7 separate regions of the Homo sapiens genome follow, and regions 2, 3, 4, 5, 6 and 7 are each linked to region 1. Evidence: promoter capture Hi-C in 16 types of primary human blood cells and fetal thymus (Javierre and others, 2016). All regions are on one chromosome and are shown on one strand. Each heading gives the region's core, a stretch centred on a gene start or on the middle of the fragment in contact. The rest is flanking DNA. Distances are from core to core; before and after follow the strand shown.

Region 1 (2,954 bases), core at 327-2,826:
CTTTCTGACTCAACAGCAGGGGTTGCTTCGAGACTGTTCCTAACACAGGCCAAGTGTCTTCCTGGGGTAAGACTGGATTAGGGGACCCTGCTCGGTCAGTGGTCCTGGTGATCGCCTAGGGAAATAGATCTATTCTGCTGGGATCTGGGACTGAATCCTAGGCAGGTTTGTGGGGAGTAGGATGGTGAGAGGTGCTGGAAGGCACGGGTCCACTTCTTAACCTTCCTTTTAACTCTGTGCTGCTGGGTGGAAGCTTTATAGTCAATGTCCTCTCCATCTCTGGCCACATTCCCAGGACTCCTGATCATTAGAGTGACTGTTGTCCCAAGTGGACATAATTATAAATAGCTCCCTTCTTTTACTGAAAGTGTCCTACAGTGGACAATAATTTAGTCCCCTCCTCCAGTGGAAAATATACTACACGCATGCAAAAGCTCAGAGGGCTCCAGGAGTCGTCCCAACTCCCCTTTCTCAGTTCCTTGGGATTTTTTTTTTTAAGTTTGTCCTCTACTAGATCGCTTCTCATTCACCAGGATATCTTAGATCAAGGCTGGCGTTTGAAGCCTCTGCCTGAGTTCAAGCCCCTTGCTTCCGGTGTTCCTGTCCAAGCCCGCGGACTGGAATCTCCCAAGGAAGTTACGAATAATTCGGGGGGGGTGGCGAAATGGGGGGTGGAGTGGGGCGTGAAACTGCAGCCTTCACCTGGCTAACAGAAGAGGACTCAGGACGCCCAGCACCCTGGATAGGACCCAACAGCGCTCCCTGGAGGTGTGGGTGCAAAGTTTTGTCTAGCTTGGCCTCCAAGGCCCTCCAGGCAATGCACTGGGAAGGGAAGAATTAGTGATTAAATTTGACCTGAATCAAAAGATGCCTTCAGTTCCTCTTCTGCTGAAAACACTAGAAATACAAGCCCAGGATGTGGGGATCGGGGGCAAGCGGTGACACCAACTAAAAGGAAGCAATGGATTTCCTTTTAAATGGAGAGGAGGATGTCGGAGAGATACCATGAAACGAATTCTCGAAACTCCAGGCAGCAATACCGATGAAAGCGCATTCTTCCAAAACAGAGCTCCTCATTCAGGGCCACATCTGAGCCTGGGGGCCCAATGCTCAGAGCGTGCCTGGCTTTCTGGGGAAAAGCGCCAGGAACATGAACGAGCTACGAAGAGCTGGAGCGGGCGCTGCGGGAGCAGCGTGTGGGGAACGGCTCGGGAGTCGCTGCTGGTAACCCCGGCCCAGCCGCCCGCAGCTGGGCTCGCAGCCGGCTCGCAGCCGACACCCAGGGTGCTGCGCCCGGGGCCCCGGGCCGCGGAAGGATATTTCACTTTGTTTACCTCCCCGGCCGGGCGAGGGAGCTGCGAGGCCGGTGCTGGCGCCCCCGGCACGGAGCTGCAATGGCAGCGGCGCGGGGAGCCGCCCGAGGACTGGCAGCGGCGGGGCTGATTGATGGGCGCCCGGCGCAATGAGGGGGGCCCGGGCGGGGGCGGGGCGGGGCCGGCTCTGGGCTGAGCCAGTCGCGGGGGCGGCGGGGGGGGGGCGGAGGCTCCGTGGAAATGTGTCGGTGACATTGAATGGGGAGACCGAGCGCGAGCGAGGCGCGCGCGCGCACACGCGCACTCACGGCCCCGCTCGCTCCGAGATCCCCGGCCACGTAAGTAACTATTAATACCGCCTCGCCGGGGGATGCGGGCGTGCTGAGCGCGGGGATTGGCCTCGGGCACCGTCGGCCGTCCCCTTTAATTTTTAAATACACGGTCCCCTCTTTTCTCTGGGGGGGGCAAGCAAGAAATCAAAGAAGGAGGAGACAAGCCGTCAATTTTCTCCAAAACAAACCCCACCGGGCAATTTGGTCTCGGGGTAGGGGGAGACGGGGTGATTGCAAATTATTCCAGGACGAGATCCAGTTCTCCAGCGGGAAAGGGGCAAAGGAACGCCGCGCGTTGGAAGGGCCAGGGACGCAGCTCCCCTTGCAGCGCCCGCAGGACCCCCGCAAGCTCGTGCCGGCGAAATCGGAGACCGCCGATCTGTCCTCGTTCTCTCCTGCACGTCTGGCTGCATTCGGAGGAAGACCTGGGGCGCGAGCGAGCGGCGACAGCATGAGCCTGTGCTGACCTCCGCGCGGCGGGCCGAGCCCAGGGCTTTGTCGCGGTACCTGCGCCCAGCCCGCGCCGCAACTCTGTGCCCAGCTTTTGCAATCTTTTGTTGGCAGCGCTGACCGCACCAAGTTAAATGCTCCCTTGCAATTTTTCTTTTTTTTGTTTGTTTGTTTAATTTTTGGAGAGCTCGCGATCTTGGAAAAGCCTCAGACGCCATCTACAGTTAAAACGTAGGTAACTGCCCTCTCCCGCACCCCCCCCTTACACGCCCCCCACCCTTTCCACCAAAAAAAGGGGGTGCAGCGCGGATTCTGGCTGCCGTGCGTCGCCAGCCGGTAGACCCGTGCTTGTTTCCTTTCTCTTTTTGTTTGGCTTCTAACGCGTTGGGACTGAGTCGCCGCCGTGAGCTCCCCGAAGACTGCACAAACTACCGCGGGCTCCTCCGCCCCGTCTGCGATTCGGAAGCCGGCCTGGGGGTCGCGTCGGGAGCCCTGGCGCTGCAGCTCCGCACCTTAGCAGCCCGGGTACTCATCCAGATCCACGCCGGGGACACACACACAGAGTAACTAAAAGTGCGGCGATTCTGCACATCGCCGACTGCTTTGGGGTAACAAAAAGACCCGAGTTGCCTGCCGACCGAGGACCCCCGGGAGCCGGGCTCGGAGCAGACGAGGTATCCGGCGGCGCCCATTTGGGGGCTTCTAACTCTTTCTCCACGCAGCCCCTCTTCTGTCCCCTCCCCTCTCGCTCCCTTTTAAAATCAGTGGCACCGAGGCGCCTGCAGCCGCACTCGCCAGCGACTCATCTCTCCAGCGGGTTTTTTTTTGTTTGTCGTGTGCGATCCTCACACTCATGAAC
Region 2 (3,029 bases), core at 142-2,641, 640 kb before region 1:
TTTTTGGTGAAATAAGAAGCATAAATGTGTTTCACACAGACTAAGCACATGAAGAACGATCACCTTATGTAGAGCTTGATAAAATTTTATATACATCTGTGTAATCACCATACAGATTAAGACAGAGAATATTTTCAGGACCCATGAAGGTTCTTTTCTGCGCCTTCGTCATCAATACTCCACCTCAGAATAATCACATTTTGACTTCAATCACTGTCAATTAGATTTTCTTACTCTTGAACTGCATATAGATGTGGTATGCACTTTTTATTTTGGTTTATTTTGCACATACTATGTTTTAAAGATTCATCCAAATTATGTGTGTATCAATGTTTTTTTTTTTTAATTTGTATATAAGTAGTCCATTATTTGACTATACCACAATTTATGTATTCATTCTTCTGTTGATGGTCAGTGGGGTTGTTTTCAGCTTTTGGCAATTATGAATAAGCCTGCTGTAAATAATCTTGTTTATTTCTTTTTGTGGGAAAACGTACTCATTTCTCTTGGGTATGAAACTATGATTGGGCAGGGTGGTTCGTACAGTAGGTCTATATTTAGGTTTAGTAGATACAACCAACTAGTTCCTTTAACTGTGTTTGTAATAATTTATATTCTCAATATTTAAGATTTTCAGTTGCAGTACATCCTCACGAAAACTTTATATTATAGTAATTTTGTTGTTTATTTTAGTTAATTTTTTAAAGATAAGTGTTGGTATCTTTTCATTTGTCCATTAGACACTTGGGCATGCACTTTTGCAAAGTCCCTGATCAAATCACTTGCCCCTTTTAAAAATTAGAGTTATTTGACTTTTTTCTTATTGGACAAATTGCTTGAACATGCACTTTAGAAGAAAGTTATGCAAAGAGCCAATAAACCCACTAAAAGATGCTTTCTTCTTTTACCAACCTCACAAACAAAACAAAGATGAGATACATCTTGAATAGGTCTTTGCCAACAGAGTGCCCTGGGCCCTGCTCTCTATTCATGGGTTTTATTGGAATCCTTTTTGAGCTAGAGCTAGAGCTGAAGGTAGATGGGCATGAGTGGGTCTAAACCCAATGCCCAGCTTCTAGAAAGCTTTCTCTTGGCACTCCTCTGCCCTTCCAAAATGGCAACTTCTCCCTAAGCCTACTGTGGCTTTTCTGGTATTTGGAATTGGCACAAATTATGATGCAAAATTGCCATTTTCAGCATTCAGGGTTCTTTTTTTTACCACTCCTACTTAGAATTTTCTCATGTAATCAGACAGAGGGAACATTATTATAATTTTCTCATGTAATCAGACAGAGGAAACATTATTTTAGCAATTGACACCAACATTCCTTGCTTGAACAAAATTCTGAGATAAGGGGTTGGGGTAGAGGGTTTGTGTATTGACAACAGATAAAATTTAAGGAGTTTTGCATGAGACAAGGGGAAGAATTGTATTGCTCTGGAGGGTGGGAAAGAGGCAGTAGAGAGGTGAGGACTACTGAGCCTCCTAGGGTCTTGCCAAAGTATTTTAAGATGATGATATCTACTCCTGCATTTTAAAATGCTAATGTGGTAGATTGTATTACTGTTCATCTATATTTGGTGCCACCGTCTGTGGGAGGATTATACATCTCCACACTCTTAGTACTCAGTTTCAGCCATGTGACTTGCTTTGGTCAATCAGTCATGAGTGAAATTGATGTGCGTGGTTTTCCAAGCAAAAGCTTTAAGCGTTTGTGAGTGAGTGATTCCCTCTTCTGTGATGACTGGCCCTCTTCCAGGTAACAAATGCTCTGCTGGCTTTGGTCCATGAAGAAGAAAATGGGAACAGAGCCAGGGCCGACTGTGATGTGCATGTAGGGTGAATGAACGTACAACTTTATTATTGGAAATCAGTAAGATTTGGGGGTCATTTGTTAGCTTAGTGTTACCTGGTTGATTCAGTATAGTTCTGCTATGCAAACCCTCCTTTGTTCTCTGTGCCTCCAACCAGGTCATCTCGAGCAAATTCTGCTGTATTCACTGGTCCTTTGAAAGAATAATTTTTGTTGGTGAATCAAGGAAGATGAGGCATTTTGGATCTGAGTTGAAGCACTGCTAAGATATCACCTGCTGAGCCAGGAGAAAAAGGATGCTCTTGAGAATATGAGTACCCTTACGATGCACTGAAATAGAATGGGAGGTTGAATCAATTTTAACCAGATATTCAAAAAGCAAGGGACTCCTGCCTAACAACTGGGCAGGAGTTGTCTTTGATGGGACTAACCTCTGAGATAACATGCGCCAGCACTACTCTATATAACTTGCATGTCCAGTTGTTTTTTATTTTCTAGATTTGGTGTGGAGATTGAAGATGGTCATAGCCTTGATTGAGGAAAGAGATCAATACTCAGATTACCACATGATAGGTTAATATGACAGATGGCTATACATGGTGAGGATGGGCCTGGGGTCCCTGGGCCAGTGGATGATATTGGGGATTTATGAAAGGGCACCGTTATTTAGAGAAATGGGAGTCTACTACTTGCTTAACCCTGGCTATTTTTTTTTTTTCTTAAAAATCTGTTCTTTTTAGGAGAAAATTCCAGATTGTAACTTTTAGCTGCCTGTCAGGCTTGTTGTTTGGTGTGCTTTGAGTTTTCACCTTTTTTTCTGTATTTGCAAGCTTTTTTTTTTTTTTTTTGTGGGGTGGGGTGGCATTGGGTAATTGAGAGAAGGTACATTAGAAGCTGCTATCTAGGTGTCATGTAAGCTATGTTTCTGCAAAGAAAAATTTTGTACTAGAAAATTGTGCAAGAAGTGAGAGCTGATTTTTTCATGACCTTTTCAAGCCCATGTCTCTAAATCTTGATGGGTGACCAGGCTCCTTCATGGAGGACTGGACCTTTATAGCAAGTGGCTCTTATTCCTTTGCTCAGTGGAATACAGCAGTGTTTTGGGGTGGCAACCTTTGGCTGGGGATTCTATTGGCCCAGTGGCAGGAATGGTGATTTTTTTCTTCCTCTGCATAATCTGCCTTTTTATTTATTTAAGGTGCAGGGCTTAATGCC
Region 3 (2,767 bases), core at 62-2,561, 600 kb before region 1:
AATAGGAAAAAGCACACAGTGTCAGAGCCAGAGGAAGCCTTAGGAATTATTTGATATGAGAGAAAACGAAGGCCCACCACACTGTTTTTAAGTGCATGCTGGTTTCATAGTAAAAAAAAAAAAAAAAAAAAGCAAAAACAAACAAACCACAAAAAACACAAAGCAAAACCAAAAAACAGGCTATTATTGGTAATGAATAAAATAGTGTTTAACATTCTATTTCTGGTAAAGCATAGAAATCATTTTAGGTGGTTTGCACAAACAGGGAGAGCAACAGAGAGGAAAAGGGAAAAGGAGGGTAGAGGATGACACTAGAGTCTCTGGGCCCACTAAATACAGCCCATTTGCTACATGAGCCTCTCAAGGGGTTGATTTAAATATTGAGAACACATGAGAAGGAAAATGTGACGTTGCCAAAGGGTTCTGCTCTGGGAGCTACAGGTAGTTCATTTCTAAGCCTTGAGGTTTGTACAGAAATACTTATGTGATGCATAGCTCTTTAGAGATTTTTCTGGCTCTCACACAGTCCTATGAGGTGGGTGATGGGGGAGGATCAGGGAGGCTGATTTATTCCTGTTGTAAAGAGCACAGGTTTGGAGTCTGAGGTTCAGGTTCAGCTGGCTTTGTGGCTTTCCACTGGTAAACCCCAGGCAGGTTATGAAGGAGTCCCAGGCACGACTGGAACTCAGGGCTCTTCGGCACCAGGGTAGGGCTGTGTTTCCCTTGCCTTCTCCTTTTCCTCCTGACTGGGCCACGGGTTTTCTTAGGTCAGCTCTGTCCTGTGAATTCCTTGATGTTGGGAGCTCCGTCTTATTTTTCTCTGGTTTTGCCTGGTGACGTGCTAAGTAGGTTAACAGAGAAATTGTACAACCTGAAGAACATCCTCCAAATTATTAATTTTTAATCTGCCTCATTTAGGATGCTCTTATATTTGTAACCAGAAATCAAAGACCATGTTCTTCAGCTGATTACTCATCATCACTCAGCTGACTTCTTCCAAGGGCAATTCCTTCTCTGTTTTCTTCCTTTCACAGTGATTTATTATATACCTGTAAGTGCTGTGCACCCGTGATGGTGGCCCAGGCTATGAGTTCCAATCTAGTCTGCAGTATTCCACCTAAATTCACCTGATCAAACCATGCCACATCCCGAAATAAAACTCCTCAGTAGCTTCTCCACTGGGAAAGTTAAAGCCCAAGCTTCATGACAAAACAAAGTCAACAGGCCATTGACACCAGGACTGCTAGGGGAGCTGAAGTGGGGAAAAAGTTGGAGATGGGGCAAGGGCAGGTCGTGGAGACCCGGGTGTGCCAGGCTAAGCAAGGATATGGTCTTGAGAGCAAACGAGTCTGTAAAGAAAGGAGTTGGCCTAATAATCTTGAAATACTCCATATGCTGCACACTATGGGATTTGATCCATGTTAAAAGCTTAACATCATTATACTCAGGACAACTGCCATGGGTCGAGTTGTTACTACAGTCCCACTTTCTGCAAACTTCAATTCAGTTGTTCCATTGCAGCATTGTGATGGGTGCTGGAAAACACCAAAGGGATACGTGACATGATTCCAGTCTTCTAGCAACATACAATCATGGCAATTATAAGGTCTGCCATTATTGCTTTAAATATTGATTTATTTGAAATGTATTTATTGCATACTGTATGGCTTTGGGTTGTAATCATATTATCATTGATGCTGAAGTCAGACAATAGGGATTCAAATCCTAAGTATGACACTTACTGTGTGACTTTAAGCAAGTCACTGATGCCCTGTTTTCGCATTTGTAAAGTGGGGATGGTAAATATCCCCCAAGAGGCAATGCCTGTAAAGAGCACAGGAGAGTTCTGGGCCCTTGACAAGCACTCAGAAATTGCTTTCTTGCATTATTCTGTTATGATGTATGGTGTTGGAGGTGACAGAATGTCAGGCAGACATGGTTGACATCATCAAAGGACAGCAAGTAATGAATGAATGACTATACAGAACAATTCCTATTGAAATTGGCGCTGCAAAAGAATTGGCAATGTTCTAGACATCGCTCTAGAGAACAATGAGGCAGATTCTACTTCAGTAAGAATGGGGTGGCATGGGGGAAGCCCTTTCAGGAAAGGTGATATTTAATCTCCCATTTGACCGATGAGAAGAGTTGGCCACTGGAAATGCCAGGGAGAGAGATTCCCAGCTGAGGGACCAGCAAGCAACAAGCCTTTGAGGCAGGAGGAAGCTTGGCATGTTCTAGGAACCAGCAGAGGCTAAATGTGCCTGGGGCTTCGTGAGCAGAAGGCCAAGGTAGCAGGAGATGAAGCTGGGAAGGACGCAGGGACAGATCGTGCTGGGCCTTGTGGGCCCCAGTCAGGAGTTTGGATGTTATTTCAAGTGGGAGAGTCAAAGAAGCAAAGTGACATGATGTGATTTGCATGGCTTTGCTTAATGTGTGCAAATGGTCAAGCTGATGTCTTCCAGGCCCTCTGAATGAAGTAGTGGGTGTGCAGTTTTCAAAAGGAGAAGGCAAAACTGCAAGCCCTGGCAGTCAATGGGGATATACTTATTGGGAATGAAAATTTCTTCATTTGTGGAAATATTACAAAGAAATAAGAACCTGCCCTTGGGAGCACCTGGCAAACATTCTCACTTCTGAAGGGCAGACACACAGCCATGGTTGGCTGCTTTTGGCAGGGCATAAATTAATTCTAAGTGCATGCACAGGGAGAATCTAGTTTGCTATTTAGTATGCCAGGCCCTGAGCTGGGCTAAGGACACAAAGA
Region 4 (3,082 bases), core at 153-2,652, 620 kb before region 1:
TCTGTTATTGCAAGTTGGCTTTACACTGAACTATTTATAGCTGGTGAAGTTTATTCTCATTCTTCTAGTTCAACTGAAATATAACTATTCTATTACATCCCGGGTTTATCCTCCCCCCCTGGAATTGTTTCTCCTTTCCTTAACTACATTATTTATATATATCTTTCGTCCTTATTTTTTTTCCTGCCTTGTATTACCATTAACTGGATACATGTCAATCATTAGACTGAAATCAACATCTGGAGAGTGGAGATAATAATAGTATCTACTTCATAAAGTTGGTGTAAGCAATGAAAACACTACTGTGTATTCAACATTTTAGTCTGTATAATGACCATTATTGTTATTTAAGGTGTAAAATAAATTTTATCCATATCTCTATAAATCACCCTGTCCCTAGTGGCATTCACAGTTCTTTATATGAATAACTATTTGCCAAAATGAATTTACTGCAATATTCATTATCAGAACTACCAAAGGGTTGAAAAGCTTTTTTGAGATTATTTTCTTGTACTCATTGAGTTACAATTAATTTTACTATACCTATATTAGGGGTAAGTAAATTAGGGAAGTAGTTAGAGTTAGGTTTAAGAAAGATTTTCTCCTGTTAAATGACAAGTCCCTTATGGACATCAACTTTTAATTCTTATGTCTTTAGCATACAACATAATAAAAATCAGCACATCATGCTTTGTTGAATAAATGTAAAAAAAAACTTGCTCCACTAATCTGGGGTGCAAAAGGAAGGCACATTTATTTTAATATAAAAATCAAATCTCCAAGCCCCCACCTTGCCAACCATGAGTATCTTTCTCTTGTCCCAGAGTACCCCGATCTAACTCTCTTTGGACAGTTCCATTTCATGCACCCCAGACATTCTTACTCCATTCAGGGAATTAGTCTTGGCTGGCTGAGTGACGAGAGAGAATATCGGGAAAAGGTCCTCGAAGAAGCCCATTCTCTTTAACTGTTGTTGCTTCTCTGAAGCCAGTGCCTGCCTTGTCTGTTATCTTTGATTGCCTGGACACACCTCCACACAAATCTGGTGGCCCAAATACTGAGTGTTTCAATGGCAGGGGCAACTGCCACCCTCAATGGTTTAGCAGAAGGTGCAGGGGGAGAAGACAGTATCTCTGCGTCCCGGGAACTTGCTTTAGTAATGGTTGCTCCCATCTGACATCTCCATCTCACCTCTATAGCTCCACAGCTCTTCCGGTTTACATGCTCACAAATGATCACATGGCACTGGTGGCCACACACAGTGCAAGTGTGGCTGAGTCAGGAGGGCTTCCAGCCCTTTTGCACAGAGCCCTTTCCCAACATCTTTTTGTCTTGGCAGTGAATGAGGAAGTTCTTCCATCTTTTGATCCTAAGGCCAGTCTCATTTCTTGACCAGGGTAATTGACATGTCTTTTAGGGTGAAAACTCCTCCTTGTCAAAAATGAACAAATAAATGAAGCCTATCAGCATAATTAAGGAGTTACCTAATAATCTGTCACTAAAATCACAGCATCATGAATACGCATTCATTAGGTTATGAATTCATATGTTTAACCAATAAACCCTACACTATGACTTTAAAGAACAAATTGAACAAAACCAAATATTTTTATGCATTGGTAACTTGGCACACCATTGAGTAATTGTGTATACTTTTGCCTATCTTCGAGCTCTCATTATGTTTCTCATGTTCTTTTCAATTATTTGTGAATCTTTACATGCTTTCATTGGGAACATTCATTTTGGTTTATTTTTCTAAGCCTATGGTTTGTCTTAAATCTGCATGGAACATAACTTTTACGAGGGCTTTAATTCAGACTTCAGAATTTCTATCAAATGATGGCAATATAATGCCATGAGGTGGCAAAAATTATGCTTACATTACATAAGAGTAATTTAAAATAAAATAAATTCAGAGTCTAACATGGTGAAAACAAAATCAAAAGAAGTAAAATAGGAATAGCTATCTGAAATGAATGTAAAATTAAAACACATTTTAGTAAAAGAACTTAGAAAATGGACAAACTAACATAGATTAAAAAAATCAATGTAGAGTTGCCAAGAAATCATCATGATTGGAAGTTGTGATTCTCAGCTTTTATTTTTGAAATTTTTTTCTTTTACATGAAAATTAGATATGTCACAACATTTTTAGAAAAGTGGAAGCTAGCATAATTGAAGTTGAAGGTAAATTAGAATTAGAAAAGAAAAAGTATGAAAAACAAATCCTATAGCAACATAAAAGATACGCACAATTGTTTTAAAAGTAAAAATAAATTCTGAGGCACAGATGCCAATGCTTAAAAAGATTCATACAAAGCTTGAATACTGGATCATTGTGTTCAAAAATTAACATTATGTGAAGAAAGTTTTGACTGAGAACACTTGTCATTTTGGTCAATTTATTTTTGACAAATTTACTCTTTAATTATCATCAGCTTTCAGAAAAACATGTCGATCTTACCACAGAATCAGTCTGGTAATAATCACAAACAGCATAGACAGCTTCCAAGGGGTATTAGGCCAGTATAGACACTGGTTTCTTACAGACCCTGGGAGGCCACAGGCCTATTACCCAGGGAAAGTTCCGTAATCTCTCAGAGCTCTGTTTCTTCTCAGAAAATGGGGGAAATTACACAAGATGACCTATTTTAAAATAATGCATAAATATAAAGCTTTATTGGAACAAATGTACAGGATGATTACAATATGGTATTATTTTTACCATTATTACCGTAATGGTTGAATCCTATTGCAGTCTTACTTTAAAATACAAAATATTTTGACTGGGCGCAGTGGCTCATGCCTGTAATCCCAGCACTTTGGGAGGCTGAGGCAGGTGGATCACGAGGTCAGGAGATCAAGACCATCCTCGCCAACATGGTGAAACCCCATCTCTACTAAAAATATAAAAATTAGCTGGGCATGGTGGTGCATAGTCCCAGCTACTTGGGAGGCTGAGGCAGGAAAATTGCTTGAACCCAGGAGGTGAAGGTTGCAGTGAGCCGAGATTGCACCACGGCACTCCAGCCTGGTGATAGAGTGAGACTCGGTCTCACAAAAAAAAAAAAAAAAAAAAAAA
Region 5 (2,723 bases), core at 93-2,592, 550 kb before region 1:
ACACTGGATACATTGCTAAGCATGTAGCACATATTCATTTAGCAAATTTTATTAAAAACGTGCTATGTGTCAGGTTTGGTCAAAACTCTCATAGCACTTACATTCTTGGGGAAAGGGAAGAAAGGCAACGGTTCACGCGATGAAAGGAAACTCTCTGTAATGTTGTGATCAATGCTAGGACGCTCACAGCCCACAGGACGAATTCCAATATTGGCAGCGAGCACGCGACCCACCCCCAGGCTTGGGGCTATCCTGGTCTGGTCTCCACTGTGCCCTTCACGGCCCCACACTGCAGTGGGGGGCTGCCTACCTGCATGTCATAGACCATGTTTGCTTGTACCCCAGGGGCTTGGATCATCTGGTTCCCATTTTCCTGTAGGAGATTCTCTTTCCCCTCCTTCATTCCCCTTCCTCTCAGTTTCAGTCCCTCCTCCACTGCATCTCCTGCCTGCCCTCGGCCACCTCCAGCCATGCAGTAGCTGGGTCCATCCTTGCTGCCCCCCATCGTGCTGTGCTCTCCTCTCTTGTGACACATCTCTCCTTTTATCCCCCGGCCAGCCTTCCACTGTCTGAACCGCTCAATACCGGAAACACCCTGTCCCCGACCGATCTCAGAATTGCAAAAACATGTTCTTTAGACTTCGCCTCATTTAGGATGCTCTGGCTCACGGCAACCTGCTGTGTGGCAGGTGGTCCTGGGCACCGAGCTGGCCAAGCCAGAGGCGCAGAGGCAGAAAGCTGTTGAGGTTATTTCTACTCCCCTTTCTCTACTGGGCCCTAGCTTCTTGCTACACTAAAGCTTGCACGCTCATTCTCAAGAGCTCGCCCCCCACTGATACCTCCCTGGGGCTTTGGCCTTCTCTTGCTCCTGGATCTCAGCTTAGCTCCTGACATGCCTGCGCTCACACATGCTAACATGGGCCTGTGACATTGCTGTTACTCCCGTGGAGGCTGGGTCACTCTTGCTTTTCTAGGTCTTCCTTTGCCCCAGCTGAGACTTAGCCACAGTCATATTCAATAACAATTCTGTTCTCCTTGTGCAGAATGATGGCAGCTTTAGAAAATAGATGAAATGGTTCATGTAATGATGGCCTAAGGGTTTGGCCATCATTTGGATTCCTCTGTTTGTCAGGAGACTGGGGTATCTGGAGGGCTCAAAGCTCTGTAATGTGATGCAATTATTGGTTTATTTGTCTGGTCCTTCCACTGGCTAAGACTCTTTTTCTGAGAAAGCAAACAGAATTTTAGCTCCAGAATATGAGCACCTGGGCTAGTACTTTGGTAGGTGCTCCCTGAATATTTATAGACTAAATCGCTATTTGGATAATCTGAAATTTACACTGTGAATTCTGTAAAATTAAGGTCCATTTCCTATCTCTAAATCCCTAGCGTATTTGCCAACCATCCACTGAGTATTTAACATGTGCCAGACCCTGCACTGGCACTGAGGATGGAGAGATGTATGAGACAAGCAGGAAGACCTCGGATGGGGCAGAGGCCCATATGCAGGTATCAGAAGAGAACCTAACACCAACACGGGTAACAGCAATGCGGAGGAGGAGGCTGTTCACTCCTCTCTGAAGTGGTTAAGAAAGGACTCATAAGATCCCTGGGTATTTTTTTTGAAATAGAGGTGGGAGAAAGAGCTTCGGCTCTGAACCTGGATGCTATTGATGTGGTGCTTGCTGTGATTATTCTTATAGATAGCATGGATTGAGTCCTGATGGTGTGCTTGGTACAAAGCTGAGTGCTCTCTAAGATCATCTCATTTATTCTACTGTAAGGCAGGCTGCTATATAAGGCAGACTCTAATCATCCCCATTTTGCTGGGGATAAGTGAGGTTAAGTTATTTATTCATGTCACGGGCAGTAAGTGGTAGAAGAAGAAGCTTTTCATTATTCCAATTTGGTGACCTTGAATCTCATGGTCTCTACAAAGCCTTCCCTAACGATTGCACATCTTCGGGAATTCTCCTTTCCTTGAATTATCATGGTACTCTGAAACTTTTGCTACACACCATCTTTTCCATCATTGCACATTAGTCATGCTTCTCTAATAGCTTAGTGGTGGCTAGTCCTACTACCTAATCTGTTAATAATTTTTTTTTTAAATGAAGGAAGCAAAGTCACCTACAGGTGAGCACTGGCACAAAACACAGTAGTGTTCTAGTCCCTTGCACATTTTCCTCTCAGCTTGTTCACCGCAGTAGCTGTCATGAATATTATTTCAATCAGGTATCCTGACACACGTGTGTTCCTCCATTGTGATTTTGGACAAGTTATATGACTTCTGTAAGATTTTATTTAGTTGTCTGTACAAAAAGGATACTCTCTTCCTTTGGGGTGACTTGGGAATTACTGGATATGGTGCACATGAAAGCAATCAGCTTTAATTTCCTGACTTTTTTCCCTTGAGATAATATGTAAAGCTGAGTGTTGCTTCCAATAATAGGGGAAATGATCTAGTATTCCATTTATATGGCAGAATGTTGATTTGGGAATGTAATTAGACTTAGATCAAGAAATCAAGGTCAACCAGGCAGGGTGGCTCACACCTGTAACCCCAGCACTTTGGGAGGCAGAAGTGGGAAGATCGCTTGAGTTCAGGGGTTCAACACCAGCCTGGGAAGCATAATATAGACTCTATCTTTCCAAAAAAAAAAAAAGAAAAGAAAAGAATATTAGTTACACTTGGTGGCATGTGCCTATAGTCCCAGCTACTT
Region 6 (2,728 bases), core at 11-2,510, 660 kb before region 1:
AAGGAGCTCCATTCTGGGGATGAATATCAATGCTTACGGAGGAGAGACTGGATGGAGACCAGGAGGTCAGGCAGGGAGGGGCACTGGCATGAATAAGGAGGCACTGGGTTCAAGGGGGAGACTGTGCATGTGCCAGGTGTATTCAGTGTGTCTTCGCTGGGTGCTGACCATGGGGTATGAGAGGTAGACCTGCCACCTCGAACAGCCCAGAGCAGAAAGCAAGAGGAGTAAGTCCACCTTGGAGGGGCTAGCAGAGTGCTGTGGGAGAGTGAGTGGGGCAGGTGACAAGGACAGTTCTGAGCATTCTAGACAAATTACTGGTTACTCAGGACAATTGCAATCCACACTCACATTTGGGAAACAGATGGACAAGATTAAAAACTGCAGAGAACCAGGGGATATGGAGAGCCTACCCACTAATAGGGACCTTGAATGCATTGCAGTCATTGCTGGGCTGAGTATGAAGGGTGGAAACACTTCTAGGGAGGGGATGTTTACTTTTGTGGTTTGGGAACTTGTCCCAGAGGCCCCTGCCCTGTCTCTTGGTGAAGAGGATTTAAATCATTAAAAATATTGTATGATTTTCTTCACAGAATTCCACTTTCATGAGGAGTGGGAGAATGTGTTTGAAGTCATACCCATTATTTATTATTTAGTGGTTTACTCTTCATTCATTTAATACAGTTCATTGAGCCTCTATCCTATGCTGGTCTTGAGCTGGGGGTTGGAGGTGAAAGATGGACTAAAGTCTGTCCCTGCACTTTAAGGATCTTTCAGTCTAGTGGAAGAGAGTGACTCATAAGTAATTATAAAGCACTGTGGAGAGTATAGAAGGGCAGATACATAAAGAAGGACAGAGAAGGGAGTGGTTAATTAGAATATTGGCTGTCAGGGAAGCTTTACAGAAGATGTACCGGGATATAAAGGATGAATAGGAATTTTCAGGTTGGGAAGGAGAAAGTAGCACTTTAGGTAGTGAAAGTGTCATGAATAATTGCACAAGGGCAGGCAAGTGCATGGCTTGGGAAAGAATGATTAGAGCAGTATAACTGGAGTGCTGTTGCCAGATAACATACAGGAGGCCCAGTGGGATTCGGATCTCAGATAGATGATGAATATGTTTGGCATGTCCCAAGTATTGCATGAAAAATGCTTACATTAAAGACATTATTTTCAGTTTATGCAAATGTAGATTTAAACCTGGTGTTCTGTATTTTTATTTGCTAAATCTGCCAACCATAGACTAGAACATAAAGCAGGTGAGACCACATCATATAGTTCTCCAAAAGTTCTTTAAAAGTGAGAGAGTTTCAACTTCAATCTTGTGGAGTGGCCTTAGGAGGTTTTTAAACAGAGAAGTGATATAGTCAAATTTCTGTTTTATAAATATTACTCTGGCTCCATGGAGGATGATTTAGAAAGGGGGGCCCTGGAGGCAAGATCATTAACTAAAAAGAGAGGAAAGGGATTCTGAATAAGAGCATCAACTGAGGGATTTTCAGGGCACAGGCTTGACATATTTTAGAGGTAGGACCCACGAGGACTTGCTGAGCAGGAGAGCATGAGGGGTGATGTTTGTGCTGCCAATCCTTTCTAATTATGGCTATAATATATTTGTCCTTGAAAGCTTATGACCTTCTGAACGTTCACTGCCAATAAAGATGTTGGAGAGAGAGTCCTCTGGAGACCAGGAATTCTTTGCCATTAAGCACATAGCTCAGCTCTCCATTTCTTTAAAACACATACTCTGGCTAAACTCTGAGCTAGATAATCACATCTTGATTAAGTGGCTGCGTCCATGCTGGGTACAGGTGGAAACACTTAGTGCTATAATGTTAGACGGGTCTATAAAAAAGAATGCCTTCCATACGTTCTTGGGAGAGATTTATTTTTCAAAAGAAAGTGTATATTTTGGAAGGGAAGAGGCGTTGTTTATTTCTGGGATTAAATACATCTCCAGGGTCATAGAATATATTTGGGTTCTTTAGATATGTTGCAAAGAATTCACAGAATCCTGGTAGAGAGACCCCTTGGTTACTCTCATCCTGTTCCAGTGAGGGAAGCTCAGCCCAGAGAATAGTTGTGACCTGCTCCAGGTGGCCGAACTTGGATTAGAGTAGTGGATTCATGATGCCCAGTTAAAGTGCAATGTGAATTGCACAATTCTTAGGCTTTGTCTAAACATTTAGAGTCTGGAAACACAGTGCCATTCTTTTTCTCTGTAACTACCAAGTTACAAAGAATTTCTGTAACTACCAAGTTACAAGGAATTTATCCTTGAGATGTTTCCATTTGAACTGAAGTATTGATACAAGTTGCTTTTAAAAAAGGGATTTCATGAAATTGTGTTATTTGGAAAGCACTACATCTTTATTCCCCTTGACAGTCCTCTTGCAATACATTGACACAGCCTAACTTCTGAAGGTTTTCAAAGTTTTTAGAGCATGGAACAAGAAATGTTTATATAAATAGGAAATAATGGCTATTTGTTGAATGCATTTTCAGTTGTGGGATTTAGACATTTTGGCTAAGGCGAGCTTTCCTTTTAATAGATCAACTTTCAGGGCCAAGTTGTGTTTAAAAGAATAAAGTGAAAAGTATTGTATTTACATTTCAAGAACAAAATGTCTCTCCTTCTTAGAAGTTTTAGGAATACTGCCTGGGGCCACCGCCTGCCTTTGCTGCATTAATTCCAGGGAGAGCAGACCACAGTGACTCCTTCCCTCAT
Region 7 (2,716 bases), core at 3-2,502, 530 kb before region 1:
ATCATCGTCCAAGTAATCAACACTTAGCTGTTATTAAGCGGGATTCTTCAGACAGAAGGTTTTTGCATGAATGGACAATAGACAATACACAATACACATATCTGGTATGGTGATTGGATTGAGGACAGTGCCTTTGAGAAGAATCCTTGTCACGTGGATATCAATTCTCTTAGCCAACTGTATTCGGGAGTTGTTTATGAGCTGTGAAACTCAATCTGCTTGCTTTGGAGTTCTTGCCTATTTGGATGTGCAGAGTTATTTTTTAATGATAAATTTTACGTTTGTTGAAATGTATGAGGCATGAAGCTGGGGCTGAAAGTCAGGCTCCTGGAATACAACTCCCAATGAAAAGCAGGAGGCAAGGCTGCCCACACTTTACAGGATGCAGAGGAGGCAGCCTGAACATCCAGTGATGGGACACAGCTGAAGCATGTGGGTTCTGTCTTCTGCCTGGGCACAGTGATTCTGGCTAATAAAGATTGTGCATGGTTGGCAGCTCTTAAATGTCTACTGGTAAAGTCCCTGGGAAAATATGTTCTTTATTTCCCTTCAGAGACTATAAAATGAAAAGGGCAAGATTCTAAAGAACCCCCAAAGCTATTATTTCTGGGGGGAAACATTTTCCTGCCACTTCGACAGTTCCTGTAAAACCAATAGTACTAGCTAGAGGTGGCATGAAGAGGAACAGTAGCGGGGCTAAGACATTAGCAGCAGATCATCAATTTACACATTGAGGGCATCAGCAACAATGGTGGAAAAGAAATCTCTAAGACAAATCCATTAGGAATCACTGTGCCTATAGAGACCCTATAATCACACTGGATGGGATCATCAACTCAAATGCAATTCTGATTGTTCTCTGCAAAATGAGTGTCTCACTCTTCCAGATTCCTACTTAAATCAGGGCAGGTTAACTTGGGTGACATATGCAAGGACATGTAACCAGTACCCTGACCTTCCTTCTTAAGGAGGAAAGAAAACGCCATTGCTTCTCCCATGGAACTCAGTCTAAGGAGCTCATATGCTGTATAACTGTGATCCAAGTGATGCCAAGCACATAGCTCATGTATAACCAGTTAGCTGTGTGGATGCTACAGTACTGATCAGAAGTTTGGGGGATGCTGTGATGCTCCTATCAGCTCATCCCTTCTCTTTCTTCTCTTTACTGTCTGCTTAGTTGCATATTACTTTGCACTGTGTGGATTTGCTTCCCTCTTGCCCCGATCACTAGGCAGAGTTATACCGTTTGTGTTTCCTTCATCCTGGGTTCTCTATTTCTCTTTAGGTTGAACTTGCCTTTCATAGCCACTCCTTCCACTGCCACCCAGAGAAGGTCTCAGGCTGCCCAGCCTGGTCCAGGGCATTGCTACTCAGAGCGTGGTTGATGGGTCTGCTTGTTACAGAAATTAATACAGAAATTAAGAATAAGCTGTTTGAAACTTTTAATAGCAAACTGACAGAGCAATTTTATAATCTAATACTAATATTAATCTAATATATTAATATAAATCTAATATAATAATACAAATCTGACTGTCGTATTTCATTTCATTTATTTATCTTTCTTTTGGTAATTCATTTGCAATATATTTTTCAAATTTTGGTCTTCTAAGGATTAAGGACAAACAAACTTGCTCTCTCTACATGTGGTTTGAGAAGCATGGGTCTGGGGACCCCATCTAGTTGCCAGACCAAAATGACTTCATCCTTCGTCCCGCATCTTATCTCTCTAGTCATTTCCTAGGACCTTGGCCACAGAATGACTGAAGCCACTGTTCAGAGGGGCTAGCCTCACCAATCCCTCATAGTAAATGCAGTATGTTTTAGATTGGTGCTGCTCAGGTTCTGTAATGAGGCTGAGCTTATTACCCTTGTGGTGAAAGATGAAGGGAACCATCTTCTTAGAATAGGAAGGGAAGAGAGTTCATTCTTTTTGATCTGCTTTATTGCTATCCATTCCCACCAGCAGAAGAGCTGCTGAACCAATCCTGCACTTTTGCAAGGAGGAACCGTCATAGATATTTATCCATTTCCTAGTCTTTGCTCACCATGGGGAAGTTACAGCTGCACTTAATGAGGTACCTCACAGACCAGCAGATCTCATGGAATGGAAATGGCAAAAAGAATATAAATATGCAAATGTGAACACTCTGAATTGTCAGATTACACATCAAAATGAGGATTTTGTGTAAATGTTGAAGTTTTTGTGAAAAATAAACACAAGGAAAAATTGATAATATGAAAAATAAACATATTCAAAACTTTTTAATAGAATTTTCAGTATAACACCTATCAAGATACTTTGGGAGGCTGAGAGGGGAGGATTGCTTGATGCCAGGAATTCAAGACCAGTCTGGACAACATAGCAAGACCTCATCTCTACAAAAAATTTAAAAATTAGCTGGGCATGGGGGCACAGCTGTGGTCTGAGCTACTTTGGAGGCTGAGGTGGGAGGATCACTTGAGCCCAGGAATTTGAGGTTACAGTGAGCTGTGATTGTGTCACTGCACTCCAGCTTGTGCAACAGAGTGACACTCCTAAAAAAAAAAAAAGATACTTTTTGAAGGAACTCCCTAGGAAGATCCTGTCTGGGTGGAATAAGAGAAACAGCAGGGGTTTAGAAGTGACTGCTTGACACTCCCTGTCCAGGTGAACATGGAAAAGTCACATTATTTATGTCTCTATTTACTCATCTGTGAAATGGGGATTCTAATG

The links. The method cuts DNA at HindIII sites, captures the fragments that hold promoters and counts their contacts. A CHiCAGO score of 5 or more calls a contact.
Region 2: a contact is called between a fragment that was not itself captured here and the fragment with the promoter of TRIB2 in region 1, in 2 of 17 cell types (erythroblasts and total B cells). The highest score is 5.4, in erythroblasts.
Region 3: a contact is called between a fragment that was not itself captured here and the fragment with the promoter of TRIB2 in region 1, in 3 of 17 cell types (fetal thymus, non-activated CD4 T cells and total B cells). The highest score is 6.3, in fetal thymus.
Region 4: a contact is called between a fragment that was not itself captured here and the fragment with the promoter of TRIB2 in region 1, in 1 of 17 cell types (erythroblasts). The highest score is 5.4, in erythroblasts.
Region 5: a fragment that was not itself captured here is called in contact with the fragment with the promoter of TRIB2 in region 1 in 4 of 17 cell types (fetal thymus, megakaryocytes, endothelial precursors and 1 more); the score reaches 10.5 in fetal thymus.
Region 6: a contact is called between a fragment that was not itself captured here and the fragment with the promoter of TRIB2 in region 1, in 5 of 17 cell types (erythroblasts, total B cells, naive B cells and 2 more). The highest score is 8.8, in erythroblasts.
Region 7: a fragment that was not itself captured here is called in contact with the fragment with the promoter of TRIB2 in region 1 in 6 of 17 cell types (neutrophils, erythroblasts, fetal thymus and 3 more); the score reaches 8.9 in neutrophils.

Annotation. Positions count from the first base shown.
Region 1 is chr2:12,715,360-12,718,313 of GRCh38, forward strand. TRIB2 (tribbles pseudokinase 2) reads left to right here and starts at 1,577. Exons shown (of 3, transcript NM_021643.4): 1 at 1,577-2,954. The coding sequence starts at 2,949. It overlaps LOC124905974 (a long non-coding RNA gene), which reads right to left and starts at 1,399. Exons shown (of 2, transcript XR_007086222.1): 1 at 1-1,399. RefSeq lists silencers at 1,165-1,384, 1,475-1,534 and enhancers at 1,487-2,126, 1,975-2,044. The HindIII fragment of the contact is 5,863 bases long and covers 252-2,954 here.
Region 2 is chr2:12,075,317-12,078,345 of GRCh38, forward strand. The region is part of intron 2 of MIR3681HG (MIR3681 host gene); the gene reads left to right. Among named protein-coding and RNA genes, the nearest start is that of MIR3681HG, 70 kb to the left of the region's middle. The HindIII fragment of the contact is 620 bases long and covers 1,082-1,701 here.
Region 3 is chr2:12,110,850-12,113,616 of GRCh38, forward strand. All of the region lies in intron 2 of MIR3681HG (MIR3681 host gene), which reads left to right. Among named protein-coding and RNA genes, the nearest start is that of MIR3681, 87 kb to the right of the region's middle. The HindIII fragment of the contact is 229 bases long and covers 1,198-1,426 here.
Region 4 is chr2:12,093,058-12,096,139 of GRCh38, forward strand. The region is part of intron 2 of MIR3681HG (MIR3681 host gene); the gene reads left to right. Among named protein-coding and RNA genes, the nearest start is that of MIR3681HG, 87 kb to the left of the region's middle. The HindIII fragment of the contact is 1,831 bases long and covers 488-2,318 here.
Region 5 is chr2:12,163,307-12,166,029 of GRCh38, forward strand. The region is part of intron 2 of MIR3681HG (MIR3681 host gene); the gene reads left to right. Among named protein-coding and RNA genes, the nearest start is that of MIR3681, 34 kb to the right of the region's middle. RefSeq lists an enhancer at 11-512. The HindIII fragment of the contact is 1,090 bases long and covers 798-1,887 here.
Region 6 is chr2:12,059,304-12,062,031 of GRCh38, forward strand. All of the region lies in intron 2 of MIR3681HG (MIR3681 host gene), which reads left to right. Among named protein-coding and RNA genes, the nearest start is that of MIR3681HG, 54 kb to the left of the region's middle. The HindIII fragment of the contact is 730 bases long and covers 896-1,625 here.
Region 7 is chr2:12,181,413-12,184,128 of GRCh38, forward strand. The region is part of intron 3 of MIR3681HG (MIR3681 host gene); the gene reads left to right. Among named protein-coding and RNA genes, the nearest start is that of MIR3681, 16 kb to the right of the region's middle. The HindIII fragment of the contact is 5,400 bases long and covers 1-2,716 here.